2 separate regions of the Homo sapiens genome follow, and region 2 is linked to region 1. Evidence: promoter capture Hi-C in 16 types of primary human blood cells and fetal thymus (Javierre and others, 2016). All regions are on one chromosome and are shown on one strand. Each heading gives the region's core, a stretch centred on a gene start or on the middle of the fragment in contact. The rest is flanking DNA. Distances are from core to core; before and after follow the strand shown.

Evidence for each region. Contacts are between HindIII fragments. The CHiCAGO score rates a contact against its expected background, and 5 or more counts as called.
Region 2: a contact is called between the fragment with the promoter of KIAA1191 here and the fragment with the promoter of B4GALT7 in region 1, in 1 of 17 cell types (neutrophils). The highest score is 8.6, in neutrophils.

Annotation. Positions count from the first base shown.
Region 1 is chr5:177,598,290-177,603,953 of GRCh38, reverse strand. B4GALT7 (beta-1,4-galactosyltransferase 7) reads right to left here and starts at 3,822. Exons shown (of 6, transcript NM_007255.3): 1 at 3,694-3,822. The coding sequence starts at 3,743. RefSeq lists a silencer at 3,470-4,009 and enhancers at 4,190-4,369, 4,570-4,669. The HindIII fragment of the contact is 3,518 bases long and covers 667-4,184 here.
Region 2 is chr5:176,358,877-176,364,591 of GRCh38, reverse strand. KIAA1191 reads left to right here and starts at 2,828. Exons shown (of 9, transcript NM_020444.5): 1 at 2,828-2,990; 2 at 4,674-4,781; 3 at 5,025-5,111. The coding sequence starts at 5,084. RefSeq lists an enhancer at 2,753-3,072. The HindIII fragment of the contact is 14,901 bases long and covers 1-4,703 here.

The DNA of each region.
Region 1 (5,664 bases), core at 2,573-5,072:
TCTGAACCACTCCCAGTTCACAGAGCTGCCCCGGCTCCTCAATGCTCTCTTACTTTCTGTGACTGAGTCCTGGTCAGAGCTGCTCAGGGCAAGGATGAGGAGGCTCCTGTCACTTGCAGGTGCTCCTCCCCACGATAGTGGCTCAATGTCCTGAGCCAATGACAGGAGTCCCCACCTTAGAGATGCAACCCACTGCTTTCCAAACCCGCTCCCCTACAGATCCACCCCAGCAGAAACCGTGGCTCCATCCTGCTTCCAAGAATGACCAGAAAGGCCACCCAGACACGGGTGTGTGCTGGCATTAGTCCAGGTAAAATGACCAATGTTTACTCTGGGAAGATCAGACGTGCCCCCCGAAGCAATGCAAGGCCCAAACTGTCAGTGGCGGTTCACTGAACGAGCCTCAAACCTTTAGTCCAAGAGGCAGCTCATGATAAAAGATGGGAGATGGAGAGGGAAAGAAAGATGAGGGCTGGGTACAGCACAGGCACTGATTTCAGAAACTGGAAAAACAGCTGAACATCACAGACACTGGGGTGATGCCAGGAGACAGCCTTTTGGTTAGCAAATACAAAGAAACAGAATTCACCAGATTCCTTTGCCGCTCCTCTGGAAGTTCCTGAGTATGCTGAGACAGGAGCTGAGGAATCCATGAAGGGAGAAGCTTCCTCTGTACTCCCCCTACCTTCTCCCCAAAGTAATCTGCAAAGGAATCCACTTCACAATCTTAAGAGTCAGCGATTAGCTATCAGGTCTTATAAATTCTATCTCCTGGCCAGGCGTGGTGGCTCACGCCTGTAATCCCAGCACTTTGGGAGGCCGAGGCAGGTGCATCACGAGGTCAGGAGCTCAAGACCAGCCTGGCAAATATGGTAACACCCCATCTCTACTAAAAATACAAAAATTAGCTGGGTGTGGTGGTACGCGCCTATAGTCCCAGCTACTTGGGAGGCTGAGGCAGAAGCATAGCTTGAATCTGGGAGGCGGAGGTTGCAGTGAGCTGAGATCACGCCACTGCACTCCAGCCTGGGCAACAGAGCGAGACTCCATCTCATAAATAAATAAATAAATAAATAAATTCTATCTCCTAAGTCCCCCTCTGATCCTTCCTCACTCATCTGTTCCTTGCCCTGCTCAGACCCCTTCAGTCTTCTGAATGACCCTCCTCTGTTTGCCAGACAAAGGCCAAGCCCTTTGGCCTGACAGTCAAAGCCCTCCATGACCTGGCCCCAACTCCAGGTGCTCCCAAGCCTTCGCCCCATGTTCTCATGTTGGGCACCTCGGAGCTTCTCCACTTGCTATATTCCTTCCTGCTCCAGCCCTCACACAGCCTGCTCCTTCTGCCTGAAATGTCCTTCTTTATCTGCCTGAGGACCCCTGTTGATCCTTCAGAGCCGAACTCCAATGTCATGGCCAGCACTGCCCCCTGCCCCCATAATGCTCCCACTTTTGTATTCCCACGGCATCTTCCCACTTTTTTGTAATGCCTTGTGTCCTTGCTTCTCAGGCCGTGTCAGATTCTTATCTGTGGCCCCAGCACAGCAAGCACAGGCCAGACAGCAGAGAGCTTGCCAAGTGAGTTACAGAAAGGGGTAAGGCAGTCAGGGCATGCCTTAAGTCACATGCTAAAGCCAGACCAACTCCTCCCTTTTTCTAGAGAGACCGCCAACCTGGAAGCCAGTAGCCTTGCAGCCAGGCCCAGGTTCCACACGCAGCTGAGAGGTGGCCTGGTAGGAAACCCCCCAGGGCTTCTGACTTACCCCCCATTATCCTGTGGTGGTGGATTCAGCTGGGGAGGAGCACAGCCCAGTCCTGAGAGTGGTCTGGGAAGGCTGGAACCTCTACAGATTCTCCCTTGCCCTCTGGGCTTTTTCTGGGGACAGGGTAGAGACTGGAGAGATGGATATGGGGTGATATCCCACCTTCATGAAAAGAAGCAGTGACTATTATCCAGGGGAACGGCGTGGACTGGGTACTCCGAGCACGTCCACACGCTAATTCCCTCGGCCCTGCTCCCCTCTCCTATGAGGACCACATCCCCATGGGCATCATCCTGTGCTCTAAGAGCACAAACCGCAGAGCAACTGGATTGAACCCAGAGTCCCAATTCCTCAGGACAGTGGACACCGAGAACAATTGTTCCTGGTGCCACCAGGTGGCAAACCAGATTTGCAGTCCCAGTGGCTCCCAGGCCCAGGCCACCCTGGCTCTGAGGGGCAGTCCAGAAGAGGCTTTGTCTCCCTCATCAATCACTGCCCAAGACTAGTAAAAGGCGGATTCAAACCCAGGCAGGCTGGCTCCAGAGCCTACACTAGATAGCTACACTAGCCTGCATCAGTTGCGTGGATCTTTGCACCAACCCTGTGTCAAAAGCACAGAATTGACATCAGTAAATTTCTCTGGAAACAGCTATGGAAAAGGATCAGGAAATAGAAATGCTCCTCTGTTACCTTTCCTTTCTTGTCTCATACAGACCTTCGTACTACGAGGTTTGAATCCTCAGCTGCTCTGGTTACAGGACCTCAAAACTGCAAAGGTAACGGGAAGACAACTGGCACCTCCTGTTGTGCTAGGCAGTGCCATGCTCTTTACATGTGTGCGGTCCTTTAATCCTCACACAGCCCTGCAGAGCCAATACTGTCATAACTGGCTCAGTGACGGAAAGGCTGCGGTCGGACAGATGCAGGGGTCTCTGCTCACATAATTACGGAGGACTCCTGCCCAGGTCGAACGCTAGTCCACGCTTTCTATTATATTCCTGTTTTCCCCTTTCAACACCAAGTCTGAAAAATCCCCAAAAGTACAAGTTGTGGCCACTAAATTCCAGAATCTTATGGCACCTGACGGACTTAAGAAACATGAAGGAAATGAGGTGTCATTCACGAGGAGGAGATCCAGTCATGTGTTCTGTGAGAAGACTTACAGGGACACATCTCAAGTGCCCCACGAATGGAGGCAGTCAAATCGCTTTCCCCATTCTGCTTTAGTGAGAAACAAAATTAGCTAAGGTGTGGGCCAAGCTCGCATCTTTCACGTAGGGCCAATACAGCTGCACAGGAAATGGACTAATGCGTGTATAAGGAGTGTCTAGTACGTGCCAGGCAGTGACCAGCCAGGCAGAGCACGGAGCTTCTGTCTGGTGGGTTCTGCTGGTGGCCTGCGAAGGATGGGGGGAAGTGTTAAGGAGGAAGGGTAGGGTCTGAGGCTATATGGATGTGATGAGGAAGGCAGAGACCAGAGAAACGGAATACACGTCCTCAGGGATCAGAGACAAATTGAGAAACACAAATCCATGGTGAGAGGTCAGCGGAGTCAGAGACCCGCATGCAGATAGAGGGAGGCTGGTGGAGAAACACAGACACAACGAAACACATAACGAGAGAGACTAGCAAAGAGGGGATCAGAAACTCACAAAGGGAAGTCAATGGAGAAATACGGACCCACGGGCCGGGGGGAAGGTGCTGGGGGAAGGACGAGTGCCGCGGAAAGGGAGAGGGGGCGGGGGAGGCAGAGACCCACAGGGACAGACAGAAACCGGAACAGAGCGCCAGGGACCCACAGGGAGAACCACACGCCCTCACAGAAACCCGCAGACATGGAGACGTGATGGCCTCGGGTTCCCAGATTCCGCCGGCGGCCGAGAAGGGAGCGGCGCCCGGGAGGACGGGGCCCGGGCCCACCGCCGCCGCTCACCTGCCGTCCTCCCAGGGCAGCTGCGCCGCTTTCCTCCGCGAGGGGAACATCGTGCGGAGAGGCGGCGGCGCATGGGGCAGGCGCTCGCAGCCCGGCCGGCCCGGCCTCCCGGGCCTACGCGGCGCCTCCGCCTCCCGCTCCGCCCAGGCCTGTCCGCCCCGCCCCCCGGTCCGCCGGGTCCGCCGCTCCGGCCGCGCCGCCAGCTCCCGGAGCCGCCGCCTCCAAGGTTCTGCTTGCGAGCAGCGCGGGCGCGCCTCCCTCTCTGGGCGGCTCCTTCCTAGCCGCCCCGGGACCCGCCTGGAAGCCCGAGAAACTGAAGCCCAGAGGCCCAGGGCCTCCCAACAAATCACTGGGCTGGGACTGGACCTAAGAGTCCAGACTCCCAAACCAACGCTCGGGGAGAATCTGCATCTCCGTCCTCTTTCCGAGGGGAGGCGGGAGCGTCCCGGGGTCCCCGTCTCGGCCCAGGCGGCGCGTTCTCCGCGCAAGCTTGGAGGGGCAAAGCCAAGCTCACGGCTCGGCGCTGAGTTCAGCTGACAGCCCGCGCAGGCGTTAGGAGCCGAGCCCTGAAGACAAGTTGACTGAATTTGAAACCCGACTCTGCTTGCCGGGCGCGGTGGCTCACGCCTGTAATCCCAGCACTTTGGGAGGCCGAGGCGGGCGGATCACGAGGTCAGGAGAGCGAGACCATCCTGGCTAACACGGTGAAACCCCGTCTCTACTAAAAATACAAAAAATTAGCCGGGCGTGGTGGCGGGCGCCTGTTAGTCCCAGCTACTCGGGAGGCTGAGGCAGGAGCATGGTGTGAACCCAGGAGGCGGAGCTTGCAGTGAGTCGAGATCGCACCACTGCACTCCAGCCTGGGTGACAGGGCGAGACTCCGTCAAAAAAAAAAGAAAAGAAAAAGAAAAAGAAACTAGACTCTGCCAATTCAGCTGTGTTTTGACCAAGCCACATCTCTGCATCTGTTTCCTCACCTGGGTATATCAATGGCTCCTATTCTATATGGTAGCTGTGGGGATTCAAGGAGAAAGTGCAAACACTTGTGCAGCGCTAGGCACACAGTTCAACGCCATATAAATGACAGCTGTCATCCAGGAAAAGGGTACTTTGGTGGAGCTGAGAACTGAAGAAGGGAATAGGAGACTGAGTTCCCATATCTGCCCCGTCACCGTGGGAACTTAACCATCCCCCTCACCCCCAGCCCCCCCACCCCTCCTACTAGCCTCCTACCTGGGGAAAGAAAGCGGCAATTGTTAGACTTGACCTCCTCTGCTCTTCCAGGCAAACTTTTAAGTTTCCTAATAGATAGCAAACATCTATTAAGTTCTTATTATGTGCCAGTCATTGTTAATAGTTCTTACTACATGAGGGTTATCTCACGTAGTCCTTATCGGTAGGTGCTTATCCCCAAGTTAAAATTGAGAGAACTGAGGCACAGAGAGGCAAATCAGGTAGTTTGGTTGCAAATCTATGGGTTTGGGGTTTTTGTTTTGTTCTTCCCCACAATCTATGATCTTAATCACTCTGCTCCAGAGAGAACTTCACCGTGGGTGGGAAATGAATCATTCCCAGTAACCCCTTTACCCCGTAAACCTGGAAGTATATAATCCACCCATTCCCCTTCCTGTTGACTCCCCCAGGGCACTGCATCCTACCCCAGAACCGTGGTCAATGCACAGCCCATCTAAAGGGGACCACTCCATCCGGTTAGCTGTTACTATATCAGGATGAAGCTCTACTTCAGATTGTCAGATTCACACTCTCAAGAAATCAGATCTCAAATGAAAACCCAAATTATCTAATTTTTAAATGTGATATCCAGCTAAGAGCCATGTTGATAATGACACTTCAACTCTGATCTCTTTTCTACTTTTTTATTTTATTTTATTTTATTTATTTATTTATTTTTTGAGACAGAGTCTCACTCTGTCAGTCAGGCTGGAGTGCAGTGGCACGATCTCGGCTCAC
Region 2 (5,715 bases), core at 1,579-4,078, 1.2 Mb after region 1:
TATGCTCCTCTCCTCCCAGATAGTGATGTTTTAGCTACATCTTATTTCTTCCGGCATTGATTCTTTTGAAAAATTTATTTCTGGCCGGGTGTGGTGGCTCATGCCTGTAATCCCAGCACTTTGGGAGGCCGAGGCAGGCGGATCACCTGAGGTCAGGAGTTCGAGAATAGCCTGCCTAACATGGTGAAACCCCATCTCTACAAAAATTAGCCGGGCGTGGTGGCACGTGCCTGTAATCCCACCTACTCAGGAGGCTAAGGCAGGAGAATCGCTTGAACCCAGGAGGAGGAGGTTGCAGTGTGCTGAGATTGCGCCACTGCCCTCCAGCCTGGGTGACAGAGCAAGAATCCGTCTCAAAAAAAAAAAAAAAGAAAAAAAAATTAGCTCCTCCTCAAAAATACACCCACTTAGAGGGGAAAACCCACAAAATTGCTAAGATTAAAAGTTTGGCTGGTGCGGTGGCTCACGCCTGTGATCCCAGCACTTTGGGAGGCCGAGGCAGCCGGCCGGATCACGAGGTCAGGAGATCGAGACCATCCTGGCTAACACGGTGAAACCCCATCTCTACTGAAAATCCAAAAAATTAGCCGGGCGTGGAGCCGGGCGTGGTGGCAGGCGCCTGTAGTCCCAGCTACTTGGTAGACTGAGGCAGGAGAATCGCTTGAAACTGGGAGGCAGAGGTTACTGTGAGCCGAGATTGCGCCACTGCATTCCAGCCTGGGCAACAGAGCGAGACCTTGTCTCAAAAAAAAAAAAAAAAAAAATGTTTACAGTCTATTATTTGTGGAAAAGAAATAGGTGCTCTCACATAGGTGCTATGCACCAAGACCATGACAGCTTCAGACATTGGTACCACAAATATCAGGGATAAAGTTTTTTTTTTTTTTGAGATGGAGTCTCACTCTGTAGCCCAGGCTGGAGTGCAGTAGTGTGATCTCAGGCCTCCCAAAGTGCTGGGATTACAGGCATGAGCCACCACACCCAGCCAGAAATAAATTTTTCAAAAGAATCAATGCCGGAAGAAATAAGATGTAGCTAAAACATCACTATCTGGGAGGAGAGGAGCATATATATGTAGTCAAAGGGAAAGGGGGACAAATCAGAAGGAATAGGGGCTGGGACCCAGAGCCAGGGGTACAGAGGAATCGCGAACTAAAAGGAGGTGAAGAGTTGAGACAATATAAAGGGAAAGAGGTAGCCCTGCTGGGCCCTGAGAGCCACAGGCGGTCTCTCAACCCATGTACCCTACAGCCAGCCGTACATGGCGTCACCCCTCTGGAGAGCCAAAAGAACCCGACTGCTGTACTCAGGTCGTTTCTCCTGTTCTTCCTCCTCGTGCTACACACGTGGAAGCCTTGGCAGTCACTGGGGGTACCTAGGACAAGGCAGACTGCAGCCTCCGTCTCCCAGGTTCAAGAGATTCTCCTGCCTCAGTCTCCAGAATAGCTGGGATTACAGGCACCTGTCACTACGCCTGGCTGATTTTTGTATTTTAGTAGAGACGGGGTTTCGCCGTGTTGGCCAGGATGGTCTCGAACGCCTCAGCCTCTGAAAGTGTTGGGATTACAGGCCTGAACCACCGTGCCCAGCCAGAAAAAGTTGTTTTAATCAAATAGTAACTTCCAGGAAAGTCTTAAGTTTTCATGTATTTGTGGCTAAGAAATAAATGAGATGATCCCACCTTATGATCTACATAAGGGTGCAAAGTGCTATTTCTTCCTTTTCTGACTGAGAGGTGATATACATCCCTTCCTGTGGTGGATAAAGAGCAAGGTGCCAGCTTTGCTTCCACAGAGGTTAAAAAATATGGCATATTTTAAAAGCTCCAAATTAACAAAGGAACACCTTTAACACACACACGCACGCACACATATACACACAATTATACTGCAATGTAATTGTGCTGTTGATAAGCTAATTATAGAATTCATCAAAGACTTTAATTCTTAGTGCACTCAAGCACCCTGGTCTGGAAACAGCGCTTAAGTTTCAAGTCGCATGAGCAAGGCCTCTCAGTTCTGCCAGTACGGCTGGAAGCCTCAAATGCTGAAATCTAAATGTGACATTCACCCTGCACCACCAATCATAGCTCTCCTGAGATGAGTTTTGATGGCGAGCTTTGGACTGGGGTAGAAACGTGGATAGATTTTTGCAAATTCTGCTGTAACTTCGTTGCTTCGCCTTCTTTGTGAACCCTTCAGGGATAAGAGAAGTCTTCCTTCAGGATGTGACTGACACCTCAGCTGGCGCCTCTAAGCCTCACTCTCCTTTATGTAAAAGAGAAATGATATTAGGATCGCCTTCCCTAGGGGAGGCAGGTGAGGTCGGTTCCCTTTTTTGGTTCAGCTACTAGTACGAACCCTGCCTAACCCCGCTGTTTTGGGAGACAGTCCGTGCTCACTGCACCGCTTGCTAATCGAAGTGACTTCTCATCTCTCCCAGTCTCAGCTTCACCTCCGTGAAGTGGGAAAAACAGGATGACAAGTGCTCGCACTTGGCAGCCCTTTTTGAGCCTTGAGGGCTTGGGTTTGTGGGTGTCATTTTACTATGCTACCTCCGTCTTCCCTTAGCTTGTCACGGACCCAGGCACAGCACACGCGCTGAGGAAGTGGTGGTGAAGTGTGGCGTTTCCTCTCGGGGCTGGCGGATTCCACACTCGGAGCTGCGGCTCCACAACTCGCTGGGCGGCGAAGGGCATGGGGAGGGGGCGGGTCTCGCGATCGTGGACAACAACTCCCAGCATGCCCTGTGCTCCGCTGGGCCAAGTCTCGCGCGAGATCCCGCGGTCTCCGGAGGCTTTATCTGCAGTGCTGCCTGCCCGCTGGGTGGTACTGCTACCTAGTGGGTCTTGGGGACCTTCGAAATCGCCGCCGCTCTCACAATGGCTTGGGTCCAGACTGCGCCACAGCCTCTCGGGAGACGTGGGCCCTCGGAACCTTTTTAGTGCCGGACTCCGGGCCGCAGGCAGTCCCGCGGCAGCAGGATCACAGGTGAACAGATGGCGGGCCTGGGCCCTCCCTTGGGGCTGCGTTCTCTGGCGATCAGGAGGGGCGCTTCCGGCGAGGCCCGATCTCGGGGCCCCTCCAAGCCACTCCCCTCTCCCCGCACCTCTTAACCCTTCATCCCGGCTTCGAGCTCGGCTGGGTCGCCTCTTGCCTCCCTGGCTCCGCTCTCTGGGGTCTCCGTAATGGGGCTTCTCTCCGGGAATGCCCTGCAGCTCCCGTACGGGCTTCCCCTCCGCTTCGTGGGACCAGCCCAGCCCGAGCCCCCGCGGCTTGTCCTCAACCTCATCTCCCCACACCCCGCCTTCGGCTAGGGTCCTGGCCCTAATCTTAGCCTGGAGGGGTGGGTGAAGCAGCCGGCCTTTCGTATCCTGGCGGCACCGTCTTGTATATTGTGAAGGAGAGGCAGAGGGACGGTGAGCTGGGGGGTGGGGGCACAGGGAAAGGGAAAGGGGAAGGGGACGTGTCTGGGGCGGGAATGCTCCCTGGACTGGGAGGATGGCTGAATTCGGCCTTTGCGATGCTCGTTAGTGAAGAACTATCAATAACTTGTTTGCTCTGTCTGAGTCCTATCGGGATAGAGGGACGGTGTAGCAAGCTGAAAAACAAGAGTAACTTTCTCAGGCCCTCGTTTTAACTCCCCTGTAAACTGGGCATGAAACTACCTACCTTGCGCACGGACCACTTATCTGTGACCGTGGACAAATTTACTTAACTCCTCTGATTTTTAGTTTCCTTCTCTTTATTATTATTTTTAACATTTTTTTAATTTTTTTAATTTTTATTTTTGAGACCGAGTCTCACTCCGTCGCCCAGGCTGGAGTACAGTGGCTCGATCTCGGCTCACTGCAACCTCCGCCTCCCGGGTTCAAGCTATTCTCCTGCCTCAGCCTCCCGAGTAGCTGGGATTACAGGCGCCCGCCACCATGCCCGGCTAATTTTTGTATTTTTAGTAGAGATGGGGTTTCACCATGTTGGCCAGGCTAGTCTCGAACTCCTGACCTCAAGTGATCTGCCCGCCTGGGTCTCGCAAAATGCTGGGATTACAGGCGTGAGCCACCGCACCCGGCCAGTTTCCTTCTCTTTAAATTTGGGATAGCCTTTCTGTAAGAGATAGCTTAAAAAAAAAACTGGGGTCGGGCGCGGTGGCTCACGCTTGTAATCCTAGCACTTTGGGAGGCCGAGGTGGGCGGATCGCAAGGTCAGGAGATCAAGACCATCCTGGCTAGTGCGGTGAAACCCCATCTCTACTAAAAATACAAAAAATTAGCCAGGCGTGGTGGCAGACGCCTGTAGTCCCAGCTACTTGGGAGGCTAAGGCAGGAGAATGGCGTGAACCCGGGAGGTGGAGCTTGCAGTGAGCCAAGATCGCGCCACTGCACTCCAGCCTGGGCGACAGAGTGAGACTCCGTCTCAAAAAAAAAAAAAAAAAAAAATTGGGATTGGGATAAATAATATCTGCTTTGCCATCTTGCTGCAAGGATTAAAAGACAAGATAAACGCTGTAAATAGTTTATAGTGTTAGCTATAAAGAACAAATTTCCCTACTGTAGTATCTAGCCGCTTGCTGTGAGTTAAGAAAATGAAATGAGCAAGGTTGTTGTGGGGAATAAACAAGTGTTTGGCAGACTCTGACGGGCTGTTCCAATGCTGGCTGTTTGTTGTTATTAGAACCTCTGGATGGACTCTTCCTGGGAAGCTTTGCTACTTTGCAGCAGCTGGACCATGTTCCTCATTAACATCTGTCTGTCCGCTTAGTCATCACATCATTTCACTGTGGTAAGGTGACTTTTTCACCATGTATGGCATCTTAGCTCTGTCATCTCACAGGTGTTAAGATCAGCCACAGGTGTGGTGAGACGTTTGACTTTATCCTTCTTTTTTCATTGGCATGTTTGTCACCCACTGGCTCTTGCATGTGTGTTTCAACCTTGTAAACAAGCCGTTCAATTCTGTGTGCCTGCCAGAAGAACAGCATTGGTGCTGCTCACCATAAGAAAATGCCCTTTGTTATTTTATTAGGTGGCAGGGACTCAGCTCGGAATTCTGTATAGAAAAAGCACCTGGATCCCAGTCTTTCAATGGCTTCAAGACAACCAGAAGTGCCTGGTAAACTTAATTCTTTTTGGTAAAATCATGTTTTGCCCTTATTAATGTTTTAAGCTAGACAGAAACCATTTTATCGGAACTATATATTAATGGTTAATCTCTGCTACCAAGCGAGTATTTAGATTTACTAGATTGGCTTATTTTATTTTATTTTATTTTTTTGAGATGGAGTCTTGCTCTGTTGCCCAGGCTGGAGTGCAGCGGCACAATCTCGGCTCACTGCTACCTCCGCTTCCTGGGTTCAAGCCATTCTCCTGCCTCAGCCTCCCCAGTAGCTGGGATTACAGGTGCCCGCCACCACACCCAGCTAATTTTTGTATTTTTTGTAGAGACGGGGTTTCACCATATTGGCCAGGCTGGTCTGGAACTCCTGACCTTTTTTTTTTTTTTTTTTTTTGAGACAGAGTCTTGCTCTGTCGCCCAGGCTGGAGTGCAGTGGCGCGATCTCAGCTCACTGCAAGCTCCGCCTCCCGGGTTCACACCATTCTCCTGCCTCAGCCTCCCGAGTAGCTGGGACTACAGGCGCCCACCACCATGCCCAGCTAATTTTTTGTATTTTTAGTAGAGACGAGGTTTCACCGTGTTAGCCAGGATGGTCTCGATT